Linked DNA regions of Homo sapiens: region 1 is linked to region 2. Evidence: promoter capture Hi-C in human tissues and cell types (Jung and others, 2019). All regions are on one chromosome and are shown on one strand. The core of a region is centred on a gene start or on the middle of the fragment in contact, and the rest is flanking DNA. Distances in the headings are between cores, read along the strand shown. Region 1 overlaps EVI5L (ecotropic viral integration site 5 like). Region 2 holds the start of ELAVL1 (ELAV like RNA binding protein 1).

Region 1 (3,822 bases), core at 459-2,958, 150 kb before region 2:
ACCGGCTCCTGAAACAGCGGATTGAAACCCTAGAGAAGGTGAGGGGCGTGGCCACTGTGAGGACATGGTCGCCATGGGGTGTGACCCACCATGCGGGGCATGGCCGCTAACCTGGGGTGGACTCCTCCAAGTCTTCTCCTCTCTGGAGGACTAAGCAGCCCTACCTTCCTGCCCCAGGACCCGACCTGAACCCGATTTGGAGTGCCCTGCAACTGGGGGCGACTCGTATGGTGATTAATCCTGGAGTGGGGGCGAGTTACAACCCAGTGGCCTGCAGCCACGGGAATCCATTTGTGTTCTGTGCCCTCCCCGGCTGCACAGACGGGGAGGGGTGAGGAGGAGGGAGAACTGCCACTTTGATGGACGAGCCCCGTAATTGGGCCACAAGCCACCCCACCCTGTAATTTGGAAGTCTTGCCCTCAAAAGAAAGGAAAGGAAACCCAGTGGAGGAGAAGCGTGGCGCCATGGTGGGGAGCCACAGCCCGGACTCTGCTCCCCAACATGCTAAAGATGGGGGTGGAATTGGGGGCTCACTGAGCCCCAGCCCCGGGAGCCCCCAATTCCTGCTCCTCACTCGTCCTCACTTGACCCTCCACTGGCCACAGGAAGTGGGTTGGCAGCCGGATTTGGTTGCCCTCACCCCAAAGCCTTGTTCTGCCTTAAAATTACAACGCACCCCCTCCTCTCCCACTCTCCAGGAGGTCCGCACGAAGCCAAAAGTCCCCCTGCCCCCCACAGTTTTTCCAGCCAGCAGCGGCCCGGCTGACCCTGGAGGGTGGGACAGTGGGTTTCCCAGCCCTGCGGCCTCCCCCACAGCCGCGGGCACCCCCGACCTCCCCGCTCACACCGAACCCCTCTCCAGGACGGAGCTGGCTCTAGCTTTGGTCTTCCTCCGGGTCCTCTCCTGCTGGTTCTCTGGTCTTCCCTCCTCTCTCCCCCGCTTCTAGAGATAGTCCACTGCGTTAGTGACAAGTGGTTCTTGTCTGTCTCCCCTCTCCTGTCCCCGCGCCTTCCGCTCTGCCTCCTCCCCCTGTCGCTGGGAACCCCCTTCGCCGGGTAGGAGAGCGCTGCTCTGGCTGATAGGTTAATCCAGGTACTGTAGCTTTTTATCCCCTCTCCGGATTCCTTCCTGGCCCCTTCCCTGCACCCTGCACATGACAGCCAGTAACCGCCTCTTCCCTGCCATTCTGCGGGCAGGCCTGGCGCCATGCATGGAGCAGCTGGGGACCGCTTCTGGGGGACACAGAGGCTTCCCGGGGGGGCGGGGCATGTGAAGTGGGGAGAAGGGTGTGTGTGGAGGGGCTGTGAGTGCGTTTGGGTGTGAATGTCCACATGCATGTACAGAAAGCTTCCTCCGGGCGACACAGGGTGGGGACCCAGGAGGGCTGGGGAACCTAAAACCATATTCACATAAGGCCCTGGTGTGTGCAGTGCTGCGGTCACACACACACACAACACATGCACACACACACACGCACACACACGCCCGGCCCTCACGCTGCTGCTCTCTGCTCCTACCTGCAATGCCTGCTACCACCTTCTCTAGCTCACCTGCTCCTGCTGCCACCTCATCTTGAATGGCTTTATCTGGAAGCTGCCACCCGCCACCTGGTGGCTTTGAGCCTGGAATGGGGGGCCCAAGTTGGGTAGGGGACAAAGATGAGGTGGGGGAAAAAAGGGGGTCTTAGCTCCAGGCAGGTGGAGGCCCCAGAGCCCAGGACTAGAGAAGATGCCGCTGGGAGAGGTGAATGCCCTGGGGAGCCCAGCCCTCTCCTGCCGGGGCCTCAGCTGTCCCCAGATCCTCACCCTCACCGGCAGAGTCTGGCATGAATAGGCACAGGTGGCCTCGCTGTGCCCCTGGATAAGGATCCCAACTGGGGCAGAGACTGAGAGCCAGAGTGGGGAAGGAGATGGAGCTTTCCAAGCCCAGGGCTAGCTCTGTTCCTCCCGGGCTCCTCCAGGTGTCCTATTCCTGCCTGTCACCCACCCACGTCCCCAGGCCCAGTGGGACGCTCATCCCAGGCTCTGAGTACGGGAGGCCCCCACCTCACTTCCCCCCACCTCCACTCTCTGGGCCTCCCCCTGTGGCGGGAGGCAGGGCCTTGGGTGGGAGCCGAGGGTCACGGCCTCCCCCTGCCCCCTGTCCTCGCTGTTCTCAGGGGCAAGTGACACGGGCGCAGGAGGCGGAGGAGAACTACGTCATCAAGCGGGAGCTGGCGGTGGTGCGGCAGCAGTGCAGCTCGGCGGCCGAGGACCTGCAGAAGGCACAGAGCACCATCCGGCAGCTACAGGAGCAGCAGGTAGGGGCGGGTGTGCGGGGCTGCTGGGCGGGGCCATGACCCGCGCCCCCGCCCCCGCCCAACGGTTTTCTTTCAGGGCTCATAATCTGCCCCGCCTCAGCACCTGGCCCTCCTGTTCCTTTCTGGGGTAAGGGGAACCCAGAGACAAGCGCAGATTCTCCCCCAGCAGCTCCACATTCTGAGACATCCTGATATCCATTTCTTGCCACCTCATAGTGTGTCTGCAGTATCTGACTTCCCAACCCCCAGCCTCAGCACGGAGGCCTCTGAAGACCGGGCTGTCCCTGCAGGGTTTCCTCTGTGTCACAGGCAGCAGACAGGGCTGTGACTCCTTACGGAGGCTCTTGCCTGTCCCCAGGGTCTGAAGGATTGTTAGGTGTCCCTGGGGGGCCAGCCATGGAGAATGGGAGCAGGGCAGTCCGGGACTGTTTGGGGAGCTCTGAGCCAGCAGGGTGGGGCTGAGGGGGCACCTTGAGTGTCTTGAGGGCCATGAACTTTGGGTCCCATGATGGGCAGGCCCATGAGTGGGGCCCCACCCCAAGATTTTCTTCTCCTGAAAGCTTTTAGAACTTAACTGCGACCTGGTGCAGTGGCTCACGCCTTAATCTCAGCACTTTGGGAGGCTGAGGCAGGTGGATCACCTGAGGTTAGGAGTTCGAGACCAGCCTGGCCAACATGATGAAGCCCCATCTCTAATAAAAATACAAAAATAAGCTGGGTATGGTGGTGCGCACCTGTAGTCCCAGCTACTCAGGAGGCTGAGGCAGGAGAATCACTTGAACCCGGGAGGTGGAGGTTGCAGTGAGCCAAGATGGCACCACCGCACTCCAGCCTGGGTGACAGAGCAAGACTCCATCTCAAAAAAAAAAAAAAAAAAAACTTAACTGCAGCTGCACTCAGCAGTTGGCCTTCCTGATCGCAGGGACCCCCAGTGGCTGCAGTCCTAAGCCCTGCAGGCCACAGGGACACATGCCCTGGAGGGGCCGGGAGCGACGCTGTAGGTCCCGCTGCCATCCTGGCCTGACCCAGCAGGGCCTGGCAGTGGGGTGTAGGTTGGAGAAACCATGGAGTGCTTGAGAAAGAAGAGCCATCCAATACAGAGGTGCCCCCTCCGCCCCCAGGCCCAGAGACTGTGGCTCAAGCCTTGGCCCAGGGATTCTAGCGGATCCACTGCTCCTGGGGAGAAGGAGAGCTTCACTGTTTCTCACTTGTCCCCATGAACCACATCCGTATGATGCTGGCGTTGTGGCCCTCAGAGTCTGTGAGCACTCTTGTCCCACCTTGCTCTGAGGCAGCATGGACATTAGGGAAACTGAGGCTGGGCTCATCCCACCCACTGCATGAGGCCGCCTTTCAGGCTCGTTAGAGAGACTCCACCAGCCACCCCTGAGCTCCAACCTTGGGGGGATGCAGAGATCGGGGAGGCCCAAGGCCACCTCCTCAGGCCCAAAGGGAGGCCACTGCAGGCAAGATGAGGTGGCCCAGAGGAGCCACATGGGGCCTGGAGGCCATCTGGGCCGA
Region 2 (4,333 bases), core at 1,351-3,850:
GGCAAGAAATTTTCATAAAGTTTTTTCATAATTCTCTCATTTCTTTTACTTGAAATAGCACCATGGGCTGGGCGCGGTGGCTCACACCTGTAATCCCAGGACTTTAGGAGGCCAAGGCGGGTGGATCACCTGAGGTCAGGAGTTCGAGACCAGCCTGCTCAACAAGGCGAAATCCCACCTCTACTAAAAATGCAAAAAATTAGCTGGACGTGGTGGCGGCTGCCTGTAATCCCAGCTACTTGGGAGGCTGAGGTTGCAGTGAGCTGAGATGGCACAACTGCACTCCAGCCTGGGCAACAAGGGTGAAACTGTCTCAAAAAAAAAAAAAAAAAAAGAAAAAGAAAAAAAAAAAAAAAGAAATAGCACCATGGTCCGGGCGCGGTGGCTCACGCCTGTAATCCCAGCACTTTGGGAGGCCGAGGCGGGCGGATCACAAGGTCAGGAGATCGAGACCATCCTGGCTAACACGGTGAAACCCCGTCTCTACTAAAAGTACAAAAAATTAGTCGGGCGTGGTAGCCGGCGCCTGTAGTCCCAGCTACTCGGGAGGCTGAGGCAGAAGAATGGCGTGAACCCGGGAGGCGGAGCTTGCAGTGAGCCGAGATCGCACCACTGCACTCCAGCCTGGGCGGCAGAGTGAGACTCCGTCTCAAAAAAAAAAAAAAAAAAGAAATAGCACCATGATCTCAGACTCAACACATCCAGACTGAAACTCTGTCTGCTCAAAACCAATGCATCAACATAAACAGTATTATTTCCTTCCACATTTGAGACGTTCGTGTATCTCAACCTCTTTGTGGGCCTCGAAGTTGCAGAATTTGATAATAGATCCCAGCACAGAACTTTGCACACAGAAAATATTCGATGACAACTGGAGTGCCCTGGAGCCTTGTGATTATAGGAGCAGTACAATCGAGTGGTTAAGAGTAAGGGTTTTGAATCAGAGGGCCCGAGTTCAAACCCTGGCGCAGCCACTTTAGTGCATGAGACTGGTCACATCAAGTGACCCATCTAAGCCTCAGTTTCTTCATCTCTAAAATGGAAATTAATGGAAATTATAACATCACCTGCCTCAAGGACTGCAGACAAACGTCCACAAAGTGTCAAGCACATAGTAAATCCTCAATAAATACTGGTGGCTATGTACAACATCATTTATTCAGTGCCTACCAGGCACAGACCACGCACAACGCAACGGGATTTCCACCCTCTTCAATTTGCACCACACTTTTGTCCTTCCCATTTTATAGATAAGAAAACTAAGGCTCAACAGAGTCAAGCTTGTTCGAGGTCTTGGGAGCATCTCCCAGGGCATTAGAACTTTTGGAGGAAGAGCATTTAGTTCAGTAATGGTTCTCACCTGTGCGTGTGAGAGTGGAAGAGACCCCTCCCCCGCAACCCGAGCCATCTGGCAATGTTTGGAGATACTTTTGATCCTCACGACTTGGAGCATGGGGATACTGCTGGCATCTAGTGGGTAGAGGCCAGGAATACGGCTCAACTTCCTACATTGCACAGGGAAGCCCCCACTACCACCACAACCAAAAACTATCTGACCCCAAACATCAGTAGGGCCAACGTCGAGAAACCCTGCTCTAGACAGATCATTCTCCTCATCTTCCCATTTCTGGCCATCCGGATCTTAGATGAACACTTTCTAGCAAGGGGGCTCAGTCCCACCACGGGAAGCCCATGCAGAAGTTGTGCAGAAGTTCTTCTCCACCTGCCCTGCACACAGTAGGGACCAAAACCCATTTTAACAAGCCCCGCAGCCCAGAGCACCGGAAAAGGAAGGAAGGGCATCCATCCCCCATTGTTCAACTGTGTGCAGCTTGTGTTTCCAACAGGCACACACACATATTTTACAAATCCTAACGTCCCACGCCCCACAAACAGCTTTGTTAGAGATGGCGCTCAAAAAAAGATGCAGTTTAGATTTTTTTTTTCCCCCAGGACTCCCGTGTATCTACTGAAGGGTTTGCACACTTCTCAAAGGACCTCGCACCGGCCGCGGTGCTCTGACAACGACCACAAAAGAATCTGTGGGATTTCCCGGGGGAGCAAGCCCGTGGGCCGTGACCTCTGCGCGCTCAAAGCGTTCCCGGCGCTCCCCCGTAGCTGGCCCCACTCTCCCGCCCCCGGAGCCCGGGCTTCCAAGGCGACCGGGGCCCCCGGCCGTGCAGCCCGGCCCCCCGGCGCATGCCCACGCCGTATCCCCCTCGCCCGTCCCTCGAGGCGCCAGAGGAATCCGGCCCCGGGGCCTGTAGCCGGCGCCCACACCGGCCCGCCCCGACCCGCCCGCCGCGGCCCCAGCGCGCGTCCCCTCCCCCGGTCCGGCGCGGCCTGGGCCTCGGCCGGTGCAGGCCCGCGGGCGCCCCGCGGCCAGGCCAGGCGAGCTCAGGCCTGCCGCGGCCTACCCCGTCGGGCGCCGCCGAAGGCCCCCCACCGCCTCACCTGGATGCGGGCGGGCGGGCCCGGGGCTGCTCCGGGGCGGGCGGGAGGCGGCGGCGGCGCGGCGCTAACGGCTCCGCTCGGCCTCGGTAGCGGTGGCGGCGGTGGCGGCGACGGCGACGGCGGCAGCGGCTCCTCCTCAGCGCGCACGACCCGCTCCGGCCCGCGGCCCGGACACGCCCCCCCCGCGCGCGAGCCCATTGGCCGACGTCCGCCACGGCGCGCTGCTCATTGGCCGGCGTAGCTGTCGCGGCGCTCCGGGGCGCGCGGGAGAGGCGGGACTTCCGGTCGGCGCCGCCTGCGAAGTGCTCCGCGGCCGGCGGAGACGCGGGCAGCCAGCGATGGCCGCGGAGGGGGCGAACTGGGTTCCGGCCCTCGGAGGCTGACGGAAGGCGGTGGCTGAGGAGCGGCGCCTCTGGTTGAGCGCTCGCCGTGTGTCCCGCACCTGTCTGTCCTGCCGCCGCCCGGTAAGGTAGGAAAGGTCAGCGCGCCGGGGTTACGGGTACAGAACCTGGGTTCGAATCCCGGCCCCGACGTTTCCGCACTACGTGCCGTTGGGCAGGAGCTGACGTCACCTTGCCGGGCCTCAGTTTCCTTCTCTGGTGCGCTGAGGAGGCGGGGCATGGAACGTGGTCAGCGCTTCATCGGTGCTGGCTCTTTGAGCAAGCCAGTTCCCGAAGGCTCAGCATCTCATTCATTCATTAAAATGTCATTGAGCGCCTACTGTGTGTCAATCACTGTATGGGCAGTGAGCAGAAAAAAAATACCTGGTCTTATTGGGCTAACATTCTAAACCAGCGCTGGCCTAGAATGCCCTAGTAGAAATACATGCAAGCTACATGTTTAATTTTTTTTTATGTAAAGATGGGCTCTGGTTCTGTTGCCCAGGCTGGTCTCGAACTCCTGGACTCAAGCGATTCTCCTGCCTCCGCCTCCCAAAGAGCTGGGATTACAGGCATGCCTGCACTCTGCCTAATTTTTTCTTTTTTTTTTTTATGATCTGAAAATAATAGTCTTTTTATTTTTATTTATTTATTTATTTATTTGAGACGGAGACTCGCTCTGTCGCCAGGCTGGAGTGCAGTGGCGTGATCTCCGCTCACTGCAACCTCCGCTTCCCAGGTTCAAGCGATTCTCCTGCCTCAGCCTCCTAAGTAGTTGGGCCTACAGGCGCTGCGCCACCACAACCAGCTAATTTTTGTATTTTTAGTAGAGACGGGGTTTCACCGTGTTGGCCATGATGATCTGTATCTCTTGACCTCGTGATCTGCCCGCCTCAGCCTCCCAAAGTGCTGGGATTACAGGCTTGAGCCACTGCGCCTGGCCTACAATTTTGTTTTTCTTTTTTTTTTTTTTTTTTTGAGACAGGATCTCACTCTGTCACCCAATTTGGAGTGCGGTGGTATGATCACAGCTAACTGCAGCCTCAACTTCCCCAGCTCAGGCAATCAATCCTCCGGCTTCAGATTCCTGAGTAGCTTAGACTACAGGATGTGCCACTATGCCTGGCTAATGTTTTATTTTTTTGTAGCGATGAGGTCTTGCTGTATTGCCTAGGCTGGTCTCAAACTTCTAGACTTAAGTGATCCTCCTGCTTTGGCCTCCCAAAGTGTTGGGATTACAGGCGGGAGCCACGGTGCCCAGCCTGTTTCTTTTTTTAATCATATTTTCTTAGAAGTTTTTTTTTTTTTTTTTTTTTTTTTTGGAGACAGGGTCTCACTCTGCTGTGCAGGCTGGAATGCAGTGGTGTGATCTCAGCTCACTGCAACCTCTGCCTCCCTATTCAAGTGATTCTCGTGCCTCAGCCTCCCAAGTAGCTGGGATCACAGGCGTGCAACATCACACCCAGCTAATTCTTGTGGTTTTAGTAGAGATGGGGTTT

Evidence for each region. The method cuts DNA at HindIII sites, captures the fragments that hold promoters and counts their contacts. A contact is called where the count stands out against the background at its distance.
Region 1: a fragment that was not itself captured here is called in contact with the fragment with the promoter of ELAVL1 in region 2 in 1 of the 25 tissues and cell types used here (dorsolateral prefrontal cortex).

What each region holds. Positions count from the first base shown.
Region 1 is chr19:7,856,031-7,859,852 of GRCh38, forward strand. EVI5L (ecotropic viral integration site 5 like) reads left to right here. Exons shown (of 20, transcript NM_001159944.3): 11 at 1-38; 12 at 1,062-1,094; 13 at 2,161-2,301. Among named protein-coding and RNA genes, the nearest start is that of PRR36, 16 kb to the right of the region's middle. RefSeq lists an enhancer at 1,287-2,072. The HindIII fragment of the contact is 4,169 bases long and covers 1-3,793 here.
Region 2 is chr19:8,003,041-8,007,373 of GRCh38, forward strand. It overlaps ELAVL1 (ELAV like RNA binding protein 1), which reads right to left and starts at 2,601. Exons shown (of 6, transcript NM_001419.3): 1 at 2,455-2,601. LOC105372266 (a long non-coding RNA gene) reads left to right here and starts at 2,773. Exons shown (of 4, transcript XR_936302.2): 1 at 2,773-2,918. RefSeq lists silencers at 1,977-2,026, 2,057-2,256, 2,487-2,976. The HindIII fragment of the contact is 8,326 bases long and covers 1-4,333 here.